2 separate regions of the Homo sapiens genome follow, and region 2 is linked to region 1. Evidence: promoter capture Hi-C in 16 types of primary human blood cells and fetal thymus (Javierre and others, 2016). All regions are on one chromosome and are shown on one strand. Each heading gives the region's core, a stretch centred on a gene start or on the middle of the fragment in contact. The rest is flanking DNA. Distances are from core to core; before and after follow the strand shown.

What was found. Contacts are between HindIII fragments. The CHiCAGO score rates a contact against its expected background, and 5 or more counts as called.
Region 2: a fragment that was not itself captured here is called in contact with the fragment with the promoter of OR10T2 in region 1 in 1 of 17 cell types (fetal thymus); the score reaches 8.0 in fetal thymus.

What each region holds. Positions count from the first base shown.
Region 1 is chr1:158,395,386-158,401,914 of GRCh38, forward strand. It overlaps OR10T2 (olfactory receptor family 10 subfamily T member 2), which reads right to left and starts at 4,081. Exons shown (of 1, transcript NM_001004475.1): 1 at 3,137-4,081. The coding sequence starts at 4,081. The coding sequence ends at 3,137. The HindIII fragment of the contact is 4,820 bases long and covers 1,039-5,858 here.
Region 2 is chr1:158,294,203-158,300,731 of GRCh38, forward strand. It overlaps CD1C (CD1c molecule), which reads left to right. Exons shown (of 6, transcript NM_001765.3): 6 at 1-572. It also overlaps a transcript of CD1B not described here. Among named protein-coding and RNA genes, the nearest start is that of CD1C, 7.5 kb to the left of the region's middle. The HindIII fragment of the contact is 3,555 bases long and covers 513-4,067 here.

The DNA of each region.
Region 1 (6,529 bases), core at 2,831-5,330:
ACCCTAAAGTTGCAAGTGTATATTTGCCTTACAAGTGATTTGTCCCATTGTTTTGGGGAAGAAAAAGGGTAATTAGATCTTTCAACTTTTTTCTTGTACATATTTAGTGGATACAGTGTAATGTTTTGATACATGTACACATAATGTTATGATCAGATTGTCTTCTGAGTGTTTGAAAGGAGCAGCTCTTGTGTAGTAGACACTTATCCCCATGGAGAAAAGAGTGATGGAAACTTGGGGTCTGAAGTGCTTACACAACAGAACAAATTCTGACTCAGTGTTCCTGAGGAAAGCTGGTGGTTCATACAGAATTGTGAATGGGAATTAAAGGGGGGCATAGTTGAAACCTGGAGAGAACAAGTGTGAGAGAGTCTTAATTTACCTGGGAGAAATTAATATCCCTCAAAGAACCATGCCTGTTGGGAAGCCCATTGTGATGAGTGAGAAAACCAGCACTGCCTGTCAGCCATGTAGGAACAATCCTACTGATGATACTGTGGATGGCAGGGGGGACAGCAGCACATAGTGAACCAGCTGTCTCTTGTCTTTGGTATGGAAACCACTCTGATTCCCCTTTTAAATGTGTAAATCCACAGGGTTTCCAAAAAATTCAGGATAGAACGCCTCGAGAAGGAAATAGTGAATTTCTTGCTAACAAGGCATCTGGGGGGTTGAGGAATAACTTGGACAAACAAGAGTTGTAACTGCATACACATCTTTCTTAAATTGTAGAACAGTTTATAAAATCATATGGACTTAGTTTTAAATGAAAACTAATAAACCATACACCCACAATATCAGCACACTTCCTTTTGCATGTTACATTTCTATTCTCATCTATAGAAAGATACTTTTTTACATAGTTAAAAATAAACAATAGAATCCTCACATCTGCCCAACAGGACCAGGTAATTGGTTGATTAATCCAAAGTCCGACAGAGTTGAAAATAAAAAAGATGACTCATATACTAAAATGTTTTATTTTAACTCGAACCACTTAAAATGCATATATTTGTGAGTATATTCATGTAAGGATAAAGCTTTTACTTTGAGTGTTAGACTACTTGATCAGAGTTCTTCAGAGTACCTCTAGCATAAGCCCACTCATAATGCATTACATTCATTTTGGTGAATTTAAATATAAGCAGCAACTTAGAGACACTTGCAAATCCAAATGAATAAGACTTCTAGAATTTTTGATTTTATTTTCTTCCTCATATTTAGTCTTTCCAAAATACTCACCTGGCTGTATTAAAAACAGATGATTTTTTTGCAATCATACTTTATTAGTTTACATAGTACAAAATTACATTTTCCAAGTAGAATAAATAGAATAATAAATACAACTGTTAGAAGTGGTTTTGAGCACAACCCCCAACCCCCACCCCAACTTGTAGGGGCAGAAATATGCAGGCACAATGGAAAGTAATCTGTTAAACATTAAGTGTTCATTGTGCCATGAAAATCAGTCAGGGTGCTTTACAGAGGGAAGAGAGCATGCTGTTTAGTTTGTTATATAAAAATATTTTGGCCAGGGGCGGTGGCTCACTCCTGTAATTCCAGCGCTTGGAGAGGGTGAGGCAGGCAGATCTCTTGAGGACAGGAGTTTGAAACCAGCCTAGCCAACATGGTGAAACCCCGTCTCTACAAAAAATACAAAAATTAGCCGGGCATGGTGGTGGGCGCCTGTGGTCCCAGCTACTCGGGAGGCTGAAGCTCGAGAATAGCTTGAATCCGGGAGGTGGAGGCTGCAGTGAGCCAAGATGGAGCCACTGCACTCCAGCCTGGGTGACGGGAGTGAAACCCTGTCTCAAAAGAAATTTACATGTAATTTTTACAGTCATACAAATAATGATATTTCAGCTTTTCATTTGTGAGATGTAACATAATTTTAACAAATCAGCACATTTTAATTCTAGTATGGATTAGTCTCTGGGCAGAACAAGGATCTCATTAACAGTAATTGACTTCCTCAACTAGAATCCAAGCACTGTGAGAATGAGATAGTTCACATATTTACTCAAAAAGAAATCTTAGTTGTCCAGATGAAAAAATTCAAGGCTTATCGGTTTTAATATTTTAAATAACATTTCTTAAACTATGTAGCTTGAAAATGATAGTTTAGATTTAAAATCAATCCTGATCAGTGTTTATAATTCAAATTATATTATTGTAATCAATAAAATGTTAGGTTCTTATAAATATTACACTATGATCATCATAGAGATTATGGCCATTTTTGCCTCTTCAGAGCACTGTGTTCTATTTGATCATCAAGCATGAGGATGTCATTATTGTTTATTTTTAGTCTATTATTAAATAAAATTACATGATCTGAAAGACTTAAACATATAGCTAAGTGAAAACAAAACAAGAACTATAAATAAAAATAATGTTTAACTTATGATTAACATAATAAAAATCTAGAATTATCAACAATTCTGATAATATCGACTAACATTTTTGTCACTGTAAAACCCAGTTTCTTAGTATTAATATCTTGTTCTCCATTTAAGGCCCAGTTTAAATTTTCTCTCCCTTCTTTTCATCCCACTTATTCTAAATCTTTTTCTCTTTCAGATGGAATAAATACTCATTCCTTTGATTCTCATAACTTTTATTTATATTCTTTTAACTGATCTGATTATCTTGCATTATCATATTTTTTTCAGTGTTCATCTTTTCACCTAACCAGTCCCAACCACCATAAACTATACATTTGTTCATTTTAATTTTTCCTCTTTGAATGGGACTTGGTACACAGATGAATGTATTACTAGATGAATGCCTGTGTCCCGGATAAAAATGCTTCCAGCCACTTCAGACTCTGTTCTGTCTCTCCAACTGGAAAAGCAATTCTTGTCCTTATATTTGTTTTGGTTGTGTCTTTCCTTGAAAAACTCTCATGCTTTTCTCTTTTTGCCAAGTGTGAATTCTTTTTTTTTAACTAGACATCGGACAATATAGAGTGTAGATTGACTTGCATTTTTTTTCTTTTTGGAATAGGAGAAAATAAAAAGGCAAGAGTAGTCTTAATCCTTGGAAACACTGTCTGAGACATGCATTAAAGGTCAGAAAATTTTATGCCTTTGATTTCTTCTGTGACTATCCTAGTTAATTTTATTATTATTTTTTGTTAGCTCATCTTGGTTGCCACAGGCATTCCAAGAACTCTTTTCAATGCAGTTTTTACCTCTTTGTTCCTCAGACTGTAGACAAGAGGATTAAGTAAGGGAGTAACCACTGTGTAGGTCACTGCCACCAACTGATCCTTGTCTGAGGCAGACTTGGACTTGGGCCGCAGATAGATGATAGAGGCACAGCCATAGTGGACAAAGACCACAGTGAGATGTGAGGCACAGGTGACAAAGGCCTTCTTGCCCTCAGCTGAGGGGATCTTCAGGATGGTGTTAACTATGAAGCCATAGGATATGAGAATTAACAGAAAAGGCACCATAATTACCAGGATGCTGAGGCTAAATAAAGCCAGCTCTTTCACATGGGTGTCAGTGCAGGCTAACTTGATAACAGGTGCCATGTCACAGAAATAGTGGTTAACCCTGTTGGGGCCACAAAAACGCATGTCACAAATGAGGTTGGTGGCCACCAAAGCAATAAAGAAACCTGTGGCTCCTGAGAGAGAAATCAACTCCAACCCCAGCCTTTTGTTTATGATGAGTGTGTACCTCAGAGGGTGACAAATTGCTACATAGCGATCATATCCCATCACAGCAATGAGGAGGCAGTTGGTGCAAGCAAAGCCAAGGAAAAAGAACAGCTGGGTGGCACAGGCCATGAAGGAGATGGTCTTGGTGTCTGAGAGCAGGTGGACCAGCAGCTGAGGGATGATGACAAAAGTGTAGCAGGACTCAGAAAATGAAAGGATGAATAGAAAGCCATACATGGGAGTGTGGAGAGTCCAGCTGAAGCGAATAACGGCCATGATGGTCACATTGGCCACCAGGATTGTCAAGTATAGGAGAAGAAAGATGACAAAAAGCAGCAGCTGGAGCTCCCCCAGGCTGGAGAAACCCACCAGGATGAACTGTGTAACCACAGTGGTTTTGTTGAAACCTCGCATCTGAAGAACTTCTTTCTGTGAATGTGTTTGAAAGAGACAAAATGATAACTATCTTTGTAATACGAACATTTTCCCAACGCCTTCACTTTAAGTATATTGTCAGATTCATAATGTTAACATCTCTTTCTCTTAGTCTATCTAGATATAGATGCCTCTTTAATGATTTTTCCAAAAAATTATTAATCTGAAGTAACAGAGAAATGATTATCTACAGTATATAAATACCCCAAAGTTAAAAGGATCCAACTATTTGACAAAGTGAAAAAATTCTCTCAGTTTAAGAAGAACATTACCTTTAATATGGAATAGAAAATTTAAATTATTTTTCTTGTACTGTATGTATTTGGTCCTTGGATGTATATTCTATCCTAGTAATTTGGTTTCTTTTCCTAATATCACAATCCATTTAATTAGCATTATTGTAAAGGCATTAAAACACTGTGCCTCAGAGCATGAACTCAGGAACAAGAATGCTAGAGTTTGAAACTTGCCTTTGCCACTTAGAGCTATGAACTTCAGTGTGACAATTTTTGTCATTTGTAAGACATAAATAATAATAGAACATATTATATAGGATTGTTGTAAGAACTTAGATGGTATCAGTAAAGTACTTGAAACAGCACTTAACACATAGTAACTCCAATCTATGTGTCAGCTGCTTATGCAGTTAAGGAGTTGAGAGGCAAATATCCTGGTTTGATATTTGAACACTAGAAGAGCCTGGATCCTTAAATCAGGACAGAGTTTCCCTGCATTTGACTCAAGTGTTCTTATCCTTGAGATTCTTTTTTTAAAATTGAGCAAAAATTTAAATATGCACAGTTAAAGAAAGAACTGTTACTTTTACATTAAAAATTATTTTCTTTTTAATTTATTTTTTATTAGCAACTAATAATTATACCTATTTATGGGGTATTATGTGATGTTTGGATACATGTATACATTGTGGGATGATTAAATCAGGGTTCTTTAATAAATCTGCCCTTTTTTATCTAAGGAGTCTATAGCCTTTGAATTCTCTTTCATGATTCTATGACATTTGTTCTGTATGTTTCTGGAACTGTGAAGGGACCCAAGTGTAAAACCTGGGTCACAAGGTTATGATGTATCTGTCTATGAAACAAAATAGATTGATGATCACTAGGGATAGGGGTGGAGCAGGAAGACTTAGGTTAAGTCTTCTCTCTATTGAAGAAAGGAGAGGAAATAACGTGAACACACCTTGAATCTCTTGCAAATAAAATAGCCAGAAAGTGCTAAATGGAAAGAGAAGAGCCTATCTCAGGAACTTCCCATTATTTTATAGTCTAGGTTATTCCTCCTCCCAGAGCCCTAATCATTTTTACTTTCAGAATCAGCTTCAGAGATTCAGGAGAAACCAGATGTAATATTTGCACAACTCAACATCTCCCAACTTGTTGGCTACTTTAATGGCTATAAGATGTTAGGAGTTGTTTGACATGACACACTTGAGTTTGTTCATTGTTCATCATCTCTGTTGTGGTTTATTTGCTTAGGTAGTTCCACACACCTGCTACAACAGCTTTTTCCTTTGTTTCAGACCTTGCGGAAAATAAGATGCTTTCATGTAAGCTACTTCATTTTGACTCTAACATCCTGGTAGATAGCAAAAGTGTCTGTCGCTATCTCACGGGTAAGGCAAGTGTACTAAGTGCCCTCTCCTGGGCAGAGTAACCCATGAACATCCTCATCCTTGCATTTAACATGTTGCATTGAACATACCTCTTTATATATTTGGCACTCTTTATAGATTATAAGCTTCTCACATGCAGGAATAACTTTTTTTAATTAAAAAATGAGTCCCTAGAATATAGCATAGTTTGTGATTTATCATGTGCTCAAATATTTTGACTTGATTAGAATGTCAAAAATTAAATAATATGCTCAAGTGGTAGATCCAGTATCAGAATTCAAGTCTTCTAACTTCAAATCCACTTTCTACTTACCAAATTTTATGGCACCCATTCTTTACCTTGTGAGAAGATGATCTGCTCATATACTTTTTCCAAGGGATGAAAGCATAGTTCCACACTGCTTGTTCAAGTAAAACTTATTTGAACATTTCTGACTTTTCTGGAATAATCCAATTTTAATTATCCAAGTTTTTGAATTATCAAATTTTACAATATGAGCTTTATTCTCTTTAATCTTAATATTAGGGAGATAAGAAAAAAAGGAAAAAGGGGTAGGAAAGTAGGCAAATCAACGATATGATTGATGAAAACACTCAAAGGCAAGGAAGGTCAAGAGGATGTTGCTTAATTTCAATCACAGTTTTATGAACCAAACAAATTGCAATGTCTCCCTAAATCATTAGCTTCTTTTTCTGTGACTTTCATGAGAATTTTGTTAAATAAAAAATATCCTCTAATCTTGTCCTCAACACTAGTACTGCTTCTATATCTTTTTTCAGGTTGCTTCATATAC
Region 2 (6,529 bases), core at 1,040-3,539, 100 kb before region 1:
GAGATTTGGTCCTCAGGGTTGGAGTGGGATCAAGGCAACCGTTGTGCTGTATATGGAAGACAAATTTCCTAAAGGACTGTGTTATCTGAGATAGCCTTGGCTAAACTTTAGTCCCTTTAGGTTTCATTCACTAATTCAACTAATATTTTTTGGGTACTGAGTTGAGACAGGCACATACAGCTTCTAAACTGGTGGTGGATAAAACAAATGAGATTGTGTCCACTCTCCTGAAGTTGCAATGTTTGCTTCCTCAATCTGTCCATGTTTCTTTTCTATTGTTTTCATGTTTTTATTTATTTCAAAAAATTTTAAATAGATTTTATTGATGTATAATTTATAGTAAAATTTGAATCTTTAAGTGTACAGTTCTATTTATTTTGATAATTATATAAGCCCATGTAAACAAAATCACAATCAAGATATTAAATGTCATAACCCCTCATACCTGTTTGTAGTCAAGCACACCAACAACCTGGCATTCTTGCAACTACTGATATACTTTATGTCACTTAAGCTTAAACTTGTATTTTCTATGATTTTATTAAGATGGAAATAAACATATCTACTTGGTATTGCCTTTTATTTTTCTTCAGTTTAGCATATGGTTGTAAGTAATCCATGCTGCTCAGTGTATTAGTAACCATTCCTTTTCATTGCTGAATAGAATTCCATGTATGAATATAACTTTTTTTGGAGGAGGAGGTGGCTTCCCAGATCTGGCAGGGCCTTTGTCTCCTTGTGCCCACTCACCCAGCTTGGGTCCTGCTTCCATTGCTCATTTCCTTGGCACCAGGAGGCCCTAGGTGACTCTCCTGCACCCTTAGTCACCCTGTGACCTGCAGATACAGAGAGATCAATAGAGAGGATTCTAGGACACCCAGGAAACTGGGAAATAAAGCCAAAAATATATAAAATTAAACTTATTTTTGGGAGAAGAGACAAGATGGCTGACTAGATGCAGCCAGGAAGAGCTTCTCCCACCAAGAGACAAGACCATCAAGAAGAGCAGTATACTCTGAGAAGATCATTGGAAAGAAGGCATTGAGAGTGGATGGAGGGAGAATGCAGACCCTGGGCTGAAGGGGGGAAGAAGCTGCGAACCCTACACAGGGTTGCCAAACACTAGGACTTATTCTTGGTCCTCAGTGGCTTCTAGGGAAGGGGTTGGTTAAATAGGCATGAAGTGGCCCACTCTATCCATGAACCTCTGGAATCCTAGCTGCAGGAGACCCCCACGACCCACACAGACATTTGAGTTGGCAGGGAAAGCTACTTGCAGAGTTGGCAGGGACAGGACTCCAGCTTCTATGGAACCCAGAGGGTTTGGTGTGAGAACAGCTACAGTGGAGCATGGTTAGGGATGTCCATTACCCGAGGATTGGCATGCTCCTCTAGGTGGCTTTGACCCCTTTGTTGACTATCAGACCTGGACAGAATAGGGCTACCATGATATTTGGATGGGGCTAGACTGATCTGAGCCCCCCACCCCATGTCTGCTGGCCTCTCCCAGGATCCCTGCCTGTCTGTACCTGCTTGCAGCACAGCCTCAGATGTTCAACTGAGGCAGTTCTCAGAGACCACTGCCATAGGTCTTTCACTGGCTGACCCCACCAAACCACCAAATAGCTTCTGTCACTGGCCTCACATCAGCATGCACCTGCCTTCAGCACCCACAACTGCTTTGCTGGCATACATACACAGACATCACTGCCTTGCTACCACTTCTGTGCACATATGCATGGAGACCTCACCACTGCTGCACTGTCCCCACTAGCCTACATGCGTGCATGTACCCTGCCACACTACCATCCCTGGTGTACATGTGCATGGACCTTCTACCCTGCTGCCCCACCACCACCAGCATGTGAGTGAGTGTGGACCCCACCATGCCACTGCCCCACTGCTGCCAGTACATGCATGTGAGAGCAGACCCCCACCGCCACTGCCCTTATGAAATGCTTTTCTGGGACCCCCCCACCCTGCCCACCATAGGAGTGTTGTTGCTAGTGGACTGGGAGCACCTTGGCCCCCTCCAGTGAAGCAGGTGCTCAGTCTCAAGGGGCCAAAGAACAAGGTTCTGGGCCTGGTCCCAGGCCCTCAGTCTTAGAGCATATAGCCCAGGAGTGCTGAGCTGAGCCATGGCCCCCTGAAATCATCAAGAAATAAAGCTAGCTCACTGACCCAAACCTATACCATAGTCAAAGCCTCAAGGGCATCAAAGAATATAAAAGCAAAAGGCCCCATCAAAAGGACAGCAACTTTAAACGTTTAAGGAACATCAGCCCACATAGATGAGAAAGAACCCGTGGAAGAACTCAGGCAGCTCTAAAAGTCAGAGTGTCTTCTTACTTCCAAATGAACACACTAGCTCCCCAACAATCTTTCCTAACCAGACTAAAATGGCTGAGATAATAGACATAGATTTTAGAATCTGGATGGCAATGAAAATCATGAGATTCAGGAGAAAGTTGAAATGGAATCCAAAGAATTTAAGGAATCCAGTAAAATAATACAATAACTGAAAGACAAAATAGCCATTTTAAGAAAGAACTAAGCTGATTTGACAGAGCTAAAAAATTCACTAAAGAATTTTATAATACAATTGGAAGTATTAAAGGCAGAATAGACCACACTGAGGGAAGAATCTCAGAGCTCAAAGACCAGTTCTTCTAATTAACTCAGTCACACAAAATAAAGAAAAAATAATACAGAAGGATGAACAAAATCTCTGAGAAATATGAGGTTATGTAAAGAGACCAAACCTGTACTCACTGATGTCCCTGAAAGAGAGAGAGAGAGAGTGTGCAAACAATTGAAAACATATATGAGGATATTGTCCATGACAATTTTCTCAACTTCACTATAGAGGTCAACATTCAAATTCAAGAAATTCAGAGAACTCCTGAGAGATACTACACTAGAAAACCATCCTCAAGATACACAATAATAAGATTATCCAAGGTCAATGTGAAAGAAAAAAATACTAAAGGCAACCAGAGAGGAGGAGCAGGTCACCTACAAAGGGACCCCAATCAAGCTAACAGCATACCTTTCAGCAGAAACCTTAGAAGCCAGAAGACATTGAGGGCCTATATTCAGCATTGTTAAAGAAAAGAAATTCTGACCCAAAATTTCATATCCAGCCCAAGTAAGATTTATATGTTAAAGAGAAATTCAGCAAAGCAAATGCTAAGGAAATTTATTACCACCAGACCTGCCTTATAAGAAGTCATTAAGGGAGTGCTAAACATGGAAATAAAAGACTCTTACCAGCCACCACATAAATGCACTTAAGTAAACAGACCAGTGACACTATAAAGGAACTACACAATTAAGTCTACATAACAACCAGCTAACAATAATGACAAAATCAACTTCTCACTTATCAATATTTACCTTGAAGGTAAATGAGCTAAACACCCCAAGACACAGAGTGGCAAGTTGAATAAAGAAACAAGACCCTGGCTCATGCCTGTAATCCTAACACTTTGAGGCTAAGGCAGGCCGATTGCTTGATCCTATGAGTTTGAGACCAACCTAGGCAACATGGAAAAACCCCATTTCTACAAAAAAACCAAGAAAATTAGCTAAGAATGGTGGCACATGCCTGTAGTCCCAGCTACTGAGGAGGCTGAGGTAGGAGGATCACCCAAGCCTGGGGAGGTGGAGGCTGCAGTAAGTTGTGATCATGCCACTGCACTTCGGCCTAAGTAACAGAGTGAGACCCTGTCTCACGTTAAAAAAGACAAAAAAAAAAAAAATAAACAAGACCCACCTGTAAGTTATCTTCAAGAGACCCATCTCACATGCAAGGACACCCATAGGCCAAAACTAAAGGATGGCAAAAAATCTGTCAAGCATACAGGAAAGAAAAAAGAGCAGGGGTTGCTATTTTTATTTCAGACAAAATAAACTTTAAACCAACAACTGTCAAAAAGGACATAGAAAAACATTATTTAATGATAGAGGGTTGAATTTAATAAGAAGACTTAGCTATCCTCAATATATATGCACCCAACACAGGAGCACACAGGTTCATAAAACAAGTACTTAGAGACCCACAAAGAAGCTTATGTTATCATACAATAATGGTGGTAGACTTCAACACCCAACTGACAGCATTAGATAGATCATCAAGAGAGAACACTGATAAAGGTATTTGGAACTTAAACTCGACACTTGACCAAATGGACCTAATAAACATTGACAGAACGCTCCACCCAAAACCAAAAGAATATACATTCTTCCCATGCCTCCAGCTTTGTTCCTTTTGCTTAGGATTGTCTTGGCAATGTGGGCTCTTTTTGATTTCATATGAAAGATCAGGTAGTTTTTCCAATTCTGTGAAGAAAGTCATTGGTAGCTTGATAGGGATGGCATTGAATTTATAAATTACTTTGGGCAGTATGGCCATTTTCACGATATTGATTCTTCCTATCGATGAGCATGGAATGTTCTTCCATTTGTTTGTGTCCTCTTTTATTTCATTGAGCAGTGGTTTGTAGTTCTCCTTGAAGAGGTCCTTCACATCCCTTGTAAGTTGGATTCCTAGGTATTTTATTCTCTTTGAAGCGATTGTGAATGGGAGTTCACTCATGATTTGGCTCTCTGTTTGTCTGTTATTGGTGTGTAGGAAAGCTTGCGATTTTTGCACGTTGATTTTGTATCCTGAGACTTTGCTGAAGTTGCTTATCAGTTTAAAGAGATTTTGGGCTGAGGTGATGGGGTTTTCTAAATATACAATCATGTCATCTGCAAACAGGGACAATTTGACTTCCTCTGTTCCTAATTAAATACCCTTTATTTCTTTCTCTTGCCTGATTGCCCTGGCCAGACTTCCAATACTATGTTGAATAGGAGTGGTGAGAGAGGGCATCCTTGTCTTGTGCCAGTTTTCAAAGGGAATGCTTCCAGTTTTGCCCATTCAGTATGATATTGGCTGTGGGTTTGTCATAAATAGGTCTTAGTATTTTGAGATATGTTCCATCAATATCTAGTGTATTGGGAGTTTTTTAGCATGAACAGCTGTTGAATTTTGTCAAAGGCCTTTTCTGCATCTATTGAGATAATGATGTGGTTTTTTTCTTTAGTTCTGTTTATGTGATGGATTACATTTATTGATTTGCATATGTTGAACCAGCCTTGCATCCCAGGGATGAAGCTGATTTGATCATGGTGGATAAGCTTTTTGATGTGCTGCTGGATTTTGTTTGCCAGTATTTTACTGAGGATTTTGCATCAGTGTTCATCGGGGACATTGGTCTAAAACTCTCAGCATCAGGATTATGCTGGCCTCAAAAAATGAGTAAGGGAGGATTCCCTCTTTTTCTATTGATTGGAATAGTTTCAGAAGGAATGGTACCAGCTCCTCTTTGTACCTTTAGTAGAATTTGTCTGTGAATCCATCTGGTCCTGGACTTTTTTTGGTTGGCAGGCTATTAATTATTGCCTCAATTTCAGAGCCTGTTATTGGTCTATTCAGAGATTCAACTTCTTCCTGGTTTACTCTTGGGAGGGTGTGTGTGTCGAGGAATTTATCCATTTCTTCTAGATTTTCTAGTTTATTTGCACAGAGATGTTTATATTATCCTCTGATGGTAGTTTGTATTTTTGTGGGATCAGTGGTGATATCCCCTTTATCATTTTTTATTGTGTCTATATGATTCTTCTCTCTTTTCTTCTTTATTAGTCTTGCTAGTGGTCTATCAATTTTGCTGATCTTTTCAAAAAGCCAGGTCCTGGATTCATTGATCTTTTGAAGATTTTTTTTGTGTCTTTATCTCATTCAGGTCTGCTCTGATCTTAGTTATTTCTTGTCTTCGGCTAGCTTTTGAATATGTTTGCTCTTGCTTCTCTAGTTCTTTTAATGTGATGTTAGGTGTCAATTTTAGATCTTTCCTGCTTTATCTTGTGGGCATTTAGTGCTATAAATTTCCCTCTACACACTGCTTTACATGTGTCCCAGAGATTCTGGTACATTGTGTCTTTGTTCTCATTGGTTTCCTAGAGCATCTTTATTTCTGCCTTCATTTTGTTATTTACCAAGTAGTCATTCAGGACTACAGTTTCCATGTAGTTGTGTGGTTTTGAGTGAGTTTCTTAATCCTGAGTTCTAATTTGATTGCACTGTGGTCCGAGAGACAGTTTGTTGTGATTTCTTTTCTTTTTACATTTGCTGAGGAGTGCTTTACTTCCAATTTTGTGGTCAATTTTAGAATAAGTATGATGTGGTGCTGAGAAGAATATATACTCTGTTGATTTGGGGTAGAGAGTACCGTAGATGTCTATTAGGTCTGCTTGGTGCAGAGCTGAGTTCAAGTCCTGGATATCCTTGTTAACCTTCTGTCTTGTTGATCTGCCTAATATTGACAATGGAATGTTAAAGTCTCCCATTATTATTGTGTGGGAGTATAAGTCTCTTCGTAGGTCTGTAAGGACTCATTATATGAATCTGGGTGCTCCTGTTTTGGGTGCATATATATTTAGGATAGTTAGCTCTTCTTTTTGAATTGATTCCTTTACCATTATG